4 separate regions of the Homo sapiens genome follow, and all the other regions are linked to region 4. Evidence: promoter capture Hi-C in 16 types of primary human blood cells and fetal thymus (Javierre and others, 2016). All regions are on one chromosome and are shown on one strand. Each heading gives the region's core, a stretch centred on a gene start or on the middle of the fragment in contact. The rest is flanking DNA. Distances are from core to core; before and after follow the strand shown.

Region 1 (2,700 bases), core at 36-2,535, 140 kb after region 4:
GCTGAATAAGAACCAGTAAATAACTTCCCATTGAGAAGTTAGGGGACATTGGCCAAGGTCTTAGCATTTCCAGGGTTTCTTCCAAGGGTCTTTCTTGAAGGCCACATTAAATCTCTTGTGGTAGATTTTCTAGAGAAGCCAAGGAGCAGTCTCCTTGAGTTTCCTCACATCAGACCTATAGACCCTTACTCACTTTCTCCTAATACCTACTTTGATATATTTCTTTTTTTCTTTTTTCTTTTTGAGAAGGGTCTCACTTTATCACCCAGGCTGGAGTGGTGCAGTGGCACGATCTTGACTCACTGCAACCTCTACCTCCTGGGTTTAAGTAATTCTCCTGCCTCAGCCTCCCAAGTAGCTGGAATTACAGGCACCCACAACCATGCCCAGCTAATTTTGTTGTTGTTGTTGTTTTGAGACAGAGTTTCGCTCTGTCTCCCAGGCTGGAATGCAGTGGCGTGATCACAGCTCACTGCAACCTCTGCCTCCCAGGTTCAAGTGATTCTCCTGCCTCAGCCTCCTGAGTAGCTGGGACTACAGGTGCCCGCCACCATGCCTGGCTAATTTTTGTACTTTTAGTAGAGGCAGGGTTTCACCATGTTGGCCAGGCTGGTCTCGAACTCCTGACCTCAAGTGATCCGCCCGCCTCGGCCTCCCAAAGTGCTGGGATTACAGGAGTGAGCCCCTGTGCCAAGCAATCTATTTCTATGTGAAGGAGAATACACTGGGTTGTTACACAGGGGCATAAAAGGTGAAATTATATCTTAGGATTCACAGTAGAGAGGAAAAAAAGCTAACTCTGCCAACTAAAATTATAGAAGGTCTTGAAAACAAATCTCATCATTTCATGAAAACAAATCTCATCATTTCATTATATGTTTCTAAATTGCAGGCTGGGTGCAGTGGCTCACGCCTGTAATCCCAGCACTTTGGGAGGCTGAGGTAAGATCACTTGAGGCCAGGAGTTTTGAGACTAGACTGGGCAACAAAGTGAGACCCCTGTCTCTACAAAAAAATTAAAAAATAAAAATTAGCCGAGTGTGGTGGCACATACCTAGAGTACTCTAGCCTGGGTGACAGAGCAAGACTGTCCCTAAAATAAAATAAATTAAGAGCAGACTCTACAGGCTCAGAGTAGACAAGGTCCTGGTATCTAATAGCGTACTTGGCACATGGGCCTTCAATGAACTATTTTTTTTTTTTTTTAGATGGAGTCTCGCTCTGTTGCCCAGGCTGGAGCACAGTAGTGCAATCTCGGCTCACTAAAAGCTCCGCCTCCCGGGTTCATGCCATTCTCCTGCCTCAGCCTCCCGAGTAGCTGGGACTACAGGCACCCGCCACCACGCCTGGCTAATTTTTTTTTTCAGTGGAGACGGCATTTCACCGTGTTAGCCAGGATTGTTTCGATCTCCTGACCTCGTGATCCGCCCACCTTGGCCTCCCAAAGTGCTGGGATTACAGACGTGAGCCACCGCGCCCAGCCAATGAACTATTATTGAATGAATACCTCATTTTCCCTCTTGGCATCACACCTGAGATTGCCTGATTTGTACGTTGTCCTCAGAGCCAGCATTTATTACATTGCATTTGAGAGTCGCTAAGACAAGGCATTTTCCACACGCTTTTCCTGTTTTTTAAGTACCTTCCAACCTTGATTTGCTGATAACAGCAGTTGGCTTGTATTTTATGCTGGCCTTTGCAATGATACAGCAAATGGAATCTGGAATCTCCGGAATCGATGTCAATATGAATAGTTTCTAAGTGGAACTGCCATACAATGAGGAAGTTATCACTTACCCACAAGAGGTCTGTGACTTTGGAATCAAGTATATATAAGAAGTACTTTTTACACTGTAATGTGCTACTCAAATGTTTTGTTGTTATTATTATATCAGAAAACAACCCACAGGACCTTATAAATAATAATGATTCCAGTCATGTTCATCCTATGTGACAAAGCAATGGTTCTCAACATTTTTGGTCAGCTAATCACTTTGGCAAAATATCTCAAAACTTCGTATCTCAATTACCCATACTACTCAGTCCAAGAGTTTTGCCAGAATAAATAGGAAGAGTAGAGCTACTTTTAATTTCTGGTTTCCATTAGCCTTCTGCTGGGAAAGAGAAAAGAGATAGAGTAGAAAAGAGTTTCAAGTACAAGGGTCCATGACCTCCAAAGTCAACTACGTTGAGATTCTTGATGGTGAAGCAACAAGACAAGAAGCCAGGCTAAACATTGGCGACCCAGAAAAGGAGATAGAAAGGCCAGAGAATGCAAGACCTGCCACCCCGTGCCTGCTTTCACCTCCTCATCTGTACTTGCTGGTGTTTCTTTTTTTTTTTTTTTTTTGAGATGGAGTCTCGCATTGTCGCCCAGGCTGAAGTGCACTGGTGTGATCTCGGCTCACTGCAAGCTCCGCCTCCTGGGTTCACGCCATTCTCCTGCCTCAGCCTCCCGAGTAGCTGGGACTACAGGCATGAGCCACCACGCCTGGCTAATTTTTGTACTTTTAGTAGAGGCAGGGTTTCACCATGTTGGCCAGGCTGGTCTCGAACTCCTGACCTCAAGTGATCCGCCCGCCTCGGCCTCCCAAAGTGCTGGGATTACAGGCATGAGCCACCGTGCCCGGCCACTTGCTGGTGATTCTGAAGGATCTGTCCTTTGCGGTGTCCCTCCTTGCTCTCCAGAATCTTCGCTTC
Region 2 (2,700 bases), core at 74-2,573, 200 kb after region 4:
TGTCATGCCCAAGGCCTGGCCTTACCTAAGGAAGGACTCAGTGGGCACTCAGGGAACTGAGTCACCCCATCTTGGTGGCAGGGCCTGCTGCTCATGCACGTCTATTTCATTTAGGTGGTGGTTGTCCAGGCCATCAGTGCCCTGTGTCAGAAATATCCTCGCAAACACGCCGTCCTTATGAACTTCCTGTTCACCATGCTGCGGGAAGAGGTAAGAGTCAGGGGCATTCGGGGGATGCCAGGTCTCCTGGTGCAGGGAGTGACCTGACCACTGGCTCCATGCTCAGCTTTGTGCGTGTGCTTATGTTAGCCTGTTAACCAACTGGTTTTCATGGTGCCTGCAACCCTTTAAACTCCTTGTGGACATGTAAACACGTACCAATTGCTAGTAATTACAGTAATAACTATGACTCACCAGCCTGACTTTAAAAACTGGATGTCCTGAGGTGATGCTTGTGCAGAAGATGGGAAAATGCATGTTCTTTTCTGGTGGACTCTAGTGCAGAAATATTCTAGACCATTCCAGGAGCTCTAGGAGTGGTTTCTTGTGAAACCGGTGCTAATAATACGACATTGGTTCTATTTCTGTTCCCGACGTGAATTACTGATTCACTTATGCCACCTTTCTTGGACGTCTCAACAAAATGGGTTAATTCTTAGGAGCAATAGCAGATGTTCATGGAGTAGATTTGTTCCTCAGATACATGGTACCCCTTTCACCCAGCCCCAGAGTGGCCCATGGACTAGGCAGTAGAGGAGCCATTGCCTTGAGTGTCTTTGCGTTTCCCAAGAATGTTGTTGTAGAAGGGCACTAATGTTTAGTGAGTTGTCAGCTAATGGGCCCAGCACTTTGGTGATTGTGTTTGTTTTTTTTAAGTAGAGATGGGGTCTTGCTGGGTTGCCCAGGCTGGTCTCAAACTCCTGGCTATAAGTGATCTTCCCACCTTAGCCACCCAAGTTCTGGGATTACAGGTGTGAGCCATCATGCCTGGCCAGGCCTAGCACTTTGGAGACACTGTATGCATGATAGCAGTTTTTTTTTTTTTCTGTTGAGTAGGAGTCTCGTTCTGCTGCCCAGGCTGGAGTGCAGTGGTGAGGTCTTGGCTCACTGCAACCTCCACCTCCTGGGTTCAAGTGATTCTCCTGCCTCAGCCTCCCGAGTACCTAGGACTACAGGTGCCCCCCACCACGCCCGGCTAATTTTTTATATTTAGTAGAGACAGGGTTTTACCATGTTGGTCAGGCTGGTCTCAAACTCTTGACCTCAGGTGATCCACCCACCTTGGCCTCCCAAAGTGCTGGGATTACAGACGTGAGCCACTGCGCCCGGCCTCCATCTGTCACCCAGGCTGGAGTGTGGTGGTGTGATCACGGCTCACTGCAGCCTCAACCTCCTGGGATCAAGCAATCGTCTCACCTCAGACCCCCAAGCAGCTGGAATTATAGGCATGCACCACCATGCCCAACTAATTTTTCTATTTTTTGTAGTGATGGGGTCTCTCCATGATGCCCAGGCTGATTTCGAATTCCTGAGCTCAAGTGGTCCACCCACCTCAGCCTCTCAAAGTGCTGGGATTATAGGTGTGAGCCACTGCACCTGACCAGCCTTTTGTTTGACAGGAAAGAGTGATAGAGGCCCAGAGAACCAAGTGCCCTGTCTCCAAGTTCTGTGTTTGGACAACTGTCCTTGGTCCAGCTCAGGTCTTCAACTCTTTTCTGGAGAGAGCAGGCTCCTTGCTTAGCTCAGCTTCTCTCTGCAGGGTGGCTTTGAGTATAAGCGCGCTATCGTGGACTGCATCATCAGCATCATTGAAGAGAACTCAGAGAGCAAGGAGACAGGGCTGTCACATCTGTGCGAGTTCATCGAGGACTGCGAGTTCACAGTGCTGGCCACCCGTATTCTACATCTCCTGGGCCAGGAGGGGCCCAAGACCACCAATCCCTCAAAGTACATCCGCTTCATCTATAACCGAGTGGTCTTGGAGCATGAGGAGGTCCGGGCAGGTAGGTCTGAGCCAGGGCTGAACTTGGAAACTTAGCTTACCCTTGAATAAATGTCCCAGCAAAGGGACCTGAGCCTCCAGTGGGGATTTGTGCACTCAGTGTTCTTGCTGCACAAGCTGTTTTTCATAATATTGTAGGCAGGACCTTACATGTCATCTAGTTGAACAGTTCTTTGTTTTTTGTTTTGTTTTTTTTTTTGAGATGGAATCTCGCTCTGTCACCAGGCTGGAATGCAGTGGCGCAATCTCAGCTCACTGCAACCTCCGCCTCCCGGGTTCAAGCGATTCTCCTGCCTCAGCCTCCCGAGTAGGTGGGACTACAGGTGTGTGCCATCATGCCCAGCTAATTTTTGTATTTTTAGTAGAGATGGGATTTCACCATGTAGGCCAGGATTGTCTCGATCTCTTGACCTCATCATCTGCCCGCCTCGGCCTCCCAAAAGTGCTGGGATTACAGGCGTGAGCCACCGTGCTCGGCCATGGTTCTTAACCCCTATAATTTTTTAAGTATTTTTTTAATTGAGACGGGGTCTTGCTATGTTGTCCAGGCTGGTCACGAACTCCTGGGCTCAAGCTATCCTCCTGCCTCAGTCTCTGAAAGTGCTGGGATTACAGAGCCACTGTGCCTTGCCTTAAGTGATTTTTTTTTTAACTTTCACTGTATGTTGATGTTTAGCTAAAAAACAAAAAGCTTTGTT
Region 3 (2,700 bases), core at 148-2,647, 230 kb after region 4:
AGCCTCAACTTCCCAGGCTCAAGTGGTCCTCCTACCTCTGCCTTCTAAGTAGCTGGAACTACAGGTGCATGCCACCACACCAGAATAATTTTTTTTTTTTTTGGTAGAAACTGGAGTTTGCCATGTTGCCCAGGTTAGTATGTACAACGTTTATGCCCAGAGAAACCCATTAGAGACTCAGGGTCCGAGGTTTTTATTGGAGGCTGATCATGTAGGCACTCTACCAGATACCTAGCAGGTACCAAAATTTCAGACTCCCAGAAGGAAAACAGGTGTTGGCATAAACTTTATTGTTTACACAGACTAGGCGGAATAAACCACCCTTATGAGTTGGGGAAAAGTGGGAATACTCTCAAAATCTAGTTCTGAGTTGTTGAGGGCCAACCTTGTATATAGGTTTTCCTAAAAATAGCATCCTCCAGTGCTTTGAGAGACCGAGGCAGGAAAATCACTTGAGCCTAAGAGTTCGAGACCAGGCCAGGCACAGGGGCTCATGCCTGTAATCACAGCACTTTGGGAGGCTGAGGCGGGTGGATCACAAGGTCAGGAGTTCAACACCAGCCTGGCCAGAATGGTGAAACCCCGTCTTTAGTAAAAATACAAAAATTAGCTGGCGTGGTGGTGGAAGCCTGTAGTCCCGGCTACTCGGGAGGCTGAGGTAGGAGAATCGCTTAAACCCAGGAGGCAGAGGTTGCAATGAGCCAAGATCGTGCCACTGCACTCCAGCTTGGGCAACAGAGCGAGACTCCGTCTCAAAAAAAAATAAAAATAAAAAAATTCGAGACCTGCCTGAGGAACATAGTAAAACCTCATCTCTACAAAATTAGCTGGACATGATGGTGTGCACCTGTAGTCCCAGCTACTTGGGAGGCTGAAGCAGGAGGATCACCTGAGCCCAGGAATTCAACGTTGCAGTGAGCTATGATTGTGCCACTGCACTCCAGCCTGGGCAACAGAGCGAAACTGTCTCTAAAAAACAAAAAAGTTTAAAGAAACTAAACCTCTTTGCATCCCTCTACCTTATTCAAGCAGAATGTCTTACATTCTAGTAAATATGATTGCTAAAGAACTCAAGTTACCTACATCATGATAAGTCATTAAATTGTTTTTGGCTGGTTGTGGTGGCTCACACCCACAATCCCAACACTTTGGGAGGCTAAGGTGGGCAAATCACTTGAGCCCAGGAGTTCAAGACCAGCCTGGGCAACATAGCGAAACCCCATCTCTATAAACAATACAAAAATTAGCTGGGTATGGGGGGGCGTGTGTCTATAGTCCCAGCTACTTGGGAGGCTGAGGTGGGAGGATGGCTTGAGCCAGGAGGTAGAGGTGGCATTGAGCCAAAATAGCGCCACTGCACTCCAGCCTGGATGACAGAGCCAGACCTTATCTCAAAAAAAATAAAAAAATTGTTTTCAAGTAGATTCCCTGTTTAAAAATAATCTTGAATTCTTTATATTTCAATACTCCTAAATAATGTAATAAATACATATGTTAAATTAGGTTAGAATTTCATTATGATCTCCTCACTAGATCTTCTCTCCGTGGCAGGATGCAGACTCATCTGAGCGTATCATTGCTCCCATGCGCTGGGGCTTGGTCCCTTCTTGGTTCAAAGAAAGTGATCCTTCCAAGCTGCAGTTCAATACTACCAACTGTCGTAGTGATACCGTAATGGAGAAACGGTCATTTAAGGTAGGTGGCTGGTAGCTATTAGTGCCCCGTATACCTCAGAAATAAGGTTCCAAAGGGTGTTTCCATCCTAGCCTACAGAGGACAACCAAAAATAAATAAATAACACAAAAAAGAATGTTCCCAGTTGTTAATGTGGAATGCTATTTTGTTACTACATAACAAACCACACCAGACTTAGTAGTGTGAAACAAAATGATAAACATTATCTCTCATATTCTCTGGGTTGACTGGGCTCATCTGGGCAGTTTTCACTTGGAAGTTCTCATGTTGCAGTTAGATGGCAGCTGAGGCTGGATGTCCAAGATGACTTCTTCACCCACATCTGACCCTTCAGCTGGGATGACTAGAACAACTAGAAGGCTTTCCATATGCCTAGCTCGAGGGTGTCAGGGTAGCCAGGCTTCTGTTACGGTGACTCATTTACCCCAGAGCTCATGATCCAACAGAGCAGGACAGAAGATATAAGCCTTTGTCTTACAGCATCACTTAATCTTGGCAGTCATACAGCATTACTTATGCTGTATTCTTTTATTGTTATTGTTTAATTTTTTTTTTTAAATAGAGACAAGGTCTGGCTATGTTGCCCAGGCTGGTCTCAAACTCCTGGGCTCAAGTGATCCACCTGTCTGGGCCTCCCAAAGTACTGGGATTACAGGTGTGAGCTATCACGCCCGGCCTACTTCTGTTGCATTCTATGGGTTACACAGAGCCAGCCCAAATTCAGTGTGGGAGGTGTCTACATAGGGTGTGAATACTGGGAAGCATGCTTCATTGGGGAGGCACCTTTGAAGACTAGCTATGACAAGTACCTATTTGTTAGAAAAGAGGTGATTGCTTTTATGTACATTATTTAATCTTTTCAACATCTATGTGAGTTGTGACTTTCTTTATACATAAGAAAAGAGAGTGGCCGGGCACGGTGGCTCACACCTATAATCCCAGCACTTTGGGAGGCCAAGATGGGCGGATCACGAGGTCAGGAGATCGAGACCATCCTGGCTAACA
Region 4 (2,700 bases), core at 201-2,700:
CACCTGGCCTGGCAGCTCCAGCACCCCCACTCACTCCAGAACCCCTTACCCACCTGCGTGGGGCTCACTGGTGAATGTGTGCAGGGCAGAGGAGGTGGAACATGCCAAGGCTCCATGGGGAGGGAGGGAAGGGCCAGACAGGCTGAGGCTCCTCTCCATGGTCCAGGCTCCGGTCAGAGTCCCCACTGAGCACATACCAGGGGACCCCCAGCAGCAACCAGGCCCCCGAGCAGGTGTGACATCAGTGGGGGAACAGCACCTTCCCCACCCTTCTCTGAGCCCAGCATCAGTGGGTGGAGGAAGCAGAGCTGGGGCCTGGCAGCCTCTCAGGGCCTCCTAGGAGGGTGAACACCCAAATCCTGCCCTACCCAAATCCAGAACCAGGAGGCGGGGAGAGAACAGGCGGCCTCCCAAGGAAGGACTCACCCTGCTTGGCCATGCAGGAGGAGGAAGGCTGGCCTGAGAAGGATGTGAGACCAAAATAAGAACAAGCACACCCCCACCCCCGTAGGGCCGAGGAATATTCCCGAGGGTCCTGAATGTCAACGAAGTGCGTTTAAAGCCTCCGTCAGCCTTCTGTCTTTGGCTTTTCCTGCCAGGCTTCTGTAACTTCTGTGTTTTTACCCTGTTTTATTTATTTTTTAAGACGGAGTCTCGCTCTGTCACCCAGGCTGGAGTGCAATGGCACGGTCTCGGCTCACTGCCACCTCTGCCTCCTGGGTTCAAGCAATTCTCCATCCCAAAATATATTTATCTTTTAAAGGAAGCTTTATGTCACTAACATAAATGGAAAATGGTGTCCCTCCCCTAAGTAGAATGTGCTCTAGAAGAAAATGTACTGCAAATGTTAAAACCATAGGCCAAAATTCTAGCTAGAGATTCACACTTGGTAGAGGCTCTGCTTCCCAGGCCTACAGCTGTTTGTTAGAAAGAGGCATGGAGAAGCACTAGGCAGGAGCTAAAAACACCATGGCACCAAGAAGAGACTCCGTCCTTGAGTATACAGGAGGAGGGAGGAGAGTTAAAAATGAAGTCACTCTCCCCACCATGGTGTTCTCAGCCAGTGGGAGCTGCCCAGCCCACACCTCTGTGAGGCAGGCAGGACCGGTCACTGCTCCCACTTTACAGATGAGGAAAACTGAGATTCGGAGGAACAACCAGCAGAGCCACGTTTCTCAGGGGTCTCCTAGTTCCCACCTTCTGGGAGCAGGTGAGGGGCCACCCTCAGTCCTCCACAGACCTGATTCCAAAGCCCATCAAGGCACTGGCGGCACAGTGGGACCCCCTTCTATAAACCGGGGTTGAGATGTGGTTCTGTGCCCAAGGCGCGGGCCCCTGAGGGCCTCCTGCCTCTGGAAATAGGCCCCAAGGCTGCACTGGGGGGATAAGCCAGGCTATTTTCATCACTTCCTTCCGCCCGCTCCCGCAGCGGCCACCTCAGCTGTATCCCATAGAGTTGCCACCCAGGCCTCAGCCAGGACCTTTCAGGCCAGACAGGAGCACCTGACCAAAGGCTTCACAGGTAAGTGGCCCTCCGTATTACCCAGCATGGCCTCCCACAGGGAGAGAGGAGGTCAGTTCCTGTCCCTTTAACAAGACAGGGTTGGGTGGGACATTCCCTCTGAGACACCATCTCCTTGGCTGAGTCAAGATGAGTGAGTTGATTTGACACTTATTCACTGGAAACCTGCTGTGGGTAGGGGGAGCTCTGCTGGTGGAGGGGAAACGCCTGTGGGGAAGAACCAAACAGAGGGCCACGGTTGCCGAGACCCGAGTGTGAGTCTGGCCTCTGACACCACACCGGTGGCCCTGGGCACATTGCTTTCCCTCTCTGGGCCTCAGTTTCCCCAAGTCAGTGTTAGCCCAGATGAGTGGTTTTCCAGATGGGGTCCCACTGAGTTCCCCTCCCTGCTCCAGCCAGTGTCCCTGTCCTGCTGTCTTCTGCATCTGGGAATCAGGTAACAGCTCACTTAGCTGGTGGGGGGTGCTGGGCGCAGCCTGCAGGGCCCTCCAAGGCTCTTTCCTAGTCTCTGGGGACTGTGGTCCTGGGCTGGGACTCATTTAGCAGCCATCTGCTCCTCTCATCCCCAAGCAGGGGATGGGGTCTCTGCTAAGGGCCAGGAAGTCCCTTCCCCTTCCCAAAAACAAACTTACCCAATCCACAGCCGCCCTCACCGCCCGGCCTTCTACGGTGTCCAGAGACAGTTAGCCAGGCCTGGGCTGGGCACACTCCACCTTCCCTAGTCACCAGCTGGTTTCCCAGAGGAGAAGGCTGAGACCCGAGAAGGGAGGTGAGTGCACCCCGTCCCATGTCAGGCTCCGCTACATCCCCAGTGCTTGCCGTCCCTGAGGATCGGTCCAGGCTGCCAGGCCCTCCCTCACAGCCCCTCTCTCTGCAGCCAGCCTGTCCCATGCCTGCCTGGGGAGCCCTGTTCCTGCTCTGGGCCACAGCAGAGGCCACCAAGGACTGCCCCAGCCCATGTACCTGCCGCGCCCTGGAAACCATGGGGCTGTGGGTGGACTGCAGGGGCCACGGACTCACGGCCCTGCCTGCCCTGCCGGCCCGCACCCGCCACCTTCTGCTGGCCAACAACAGCCTTCAGTCCGTGCCCCCGGGAGCCTTTGACCACCTGCCCCAGCTGCAGACCCTCGATGTGACGCAGAACCCCTGGCACTGTGACTGCAGCCTCACCTATCTGC

What was found. The method cuts DNA at HindIII sites, captures the fragments that hold promoters and counts their contacts. A CHiCAGO score of 5 or more calls a contact.
Region 1: a contact is called between a fragment that was not itself captured here and the fragment with the promoter of GP9 in region 4, in 4 of 17 cell types (naive CD8 T cells, total CD4 T cells, non-activated CD4 T cells and 1 more). The highest score is 6.6, in naive CD8 T cells.
Region 2: a contact is called between a fragment that was not itself captured here and the fragment with the promoter of GP9 in region 4, in 1 of 17 cell types (naive CD8 T cells). The highest score is 6.1, in naive CD8 T cells.
Region 3: a contact is called between a fragment that was not itself captured here and the fragment with the promoter of GP9 in region 4, in 1 of 17 cell types (neutrophils). The highest score is 5.8, in neutrophils.

The regions. Positions count from the first base shown.
Region 1 is chr3:129,197,930-129,200,629 of GRCh38, forward strand. No RefSeq gene overlaps it. Among named protein-coding and RNA genes, the nearest start is that of CNBP, 15 kb to the left of the region's middle. The HindIII fragment of the contact is 3,329 bases long and covers 1-2,700 here.
Region 2 is chr3:129,263,790-129,266,489 of GRCh38, forward strand. It overlaps COPG1 (coat protein complex I subunit gamma 1), which reads left to right. Exons shown (of 24, transcript NM_016128.4): 13 at 115-210; 14 at 1,760-2,003. Among named protein-coding and RNA genes, the nearest start is that of MIR6826, 7.0 kb to the right of the region's middle. The HindIII fragment of the contact is 2,735 bases long and covers 1-2,691 here.
Region 3 is chr3:129,287,303-129,290,002 of GRCh38, forward strand. It overlaps HMCES (5-hydroxymethylcytosine binding, ES cell specific), which reads left to right. Exons shown (of 7, transcript NM_020187.3): 3 at 1,552-1,695. Among named protein-coding and RNA genes, the nearest start is that of HMCES, 9.8 kb to the left of the region's middle. The HindIII fragment of the contact is 8,709 bases long and covers 1-2,700 here.
Region 4 is chr3:129,059,329-129,062,028 of GRCh38, forward strand. It overlaps GP9 (glycoprotein IX platelet), which reads left to right and starts at 1,451. Exons shown (of 3, transcript NM_000174.5): 1 at 1,451-1,522; 2 at 2,166-2,291; 3 at 2,400-2,700. The coding sequence starts at 2,412. The HindIII fragment of the contact is 4,040 bases long and covers 766-2,700 here.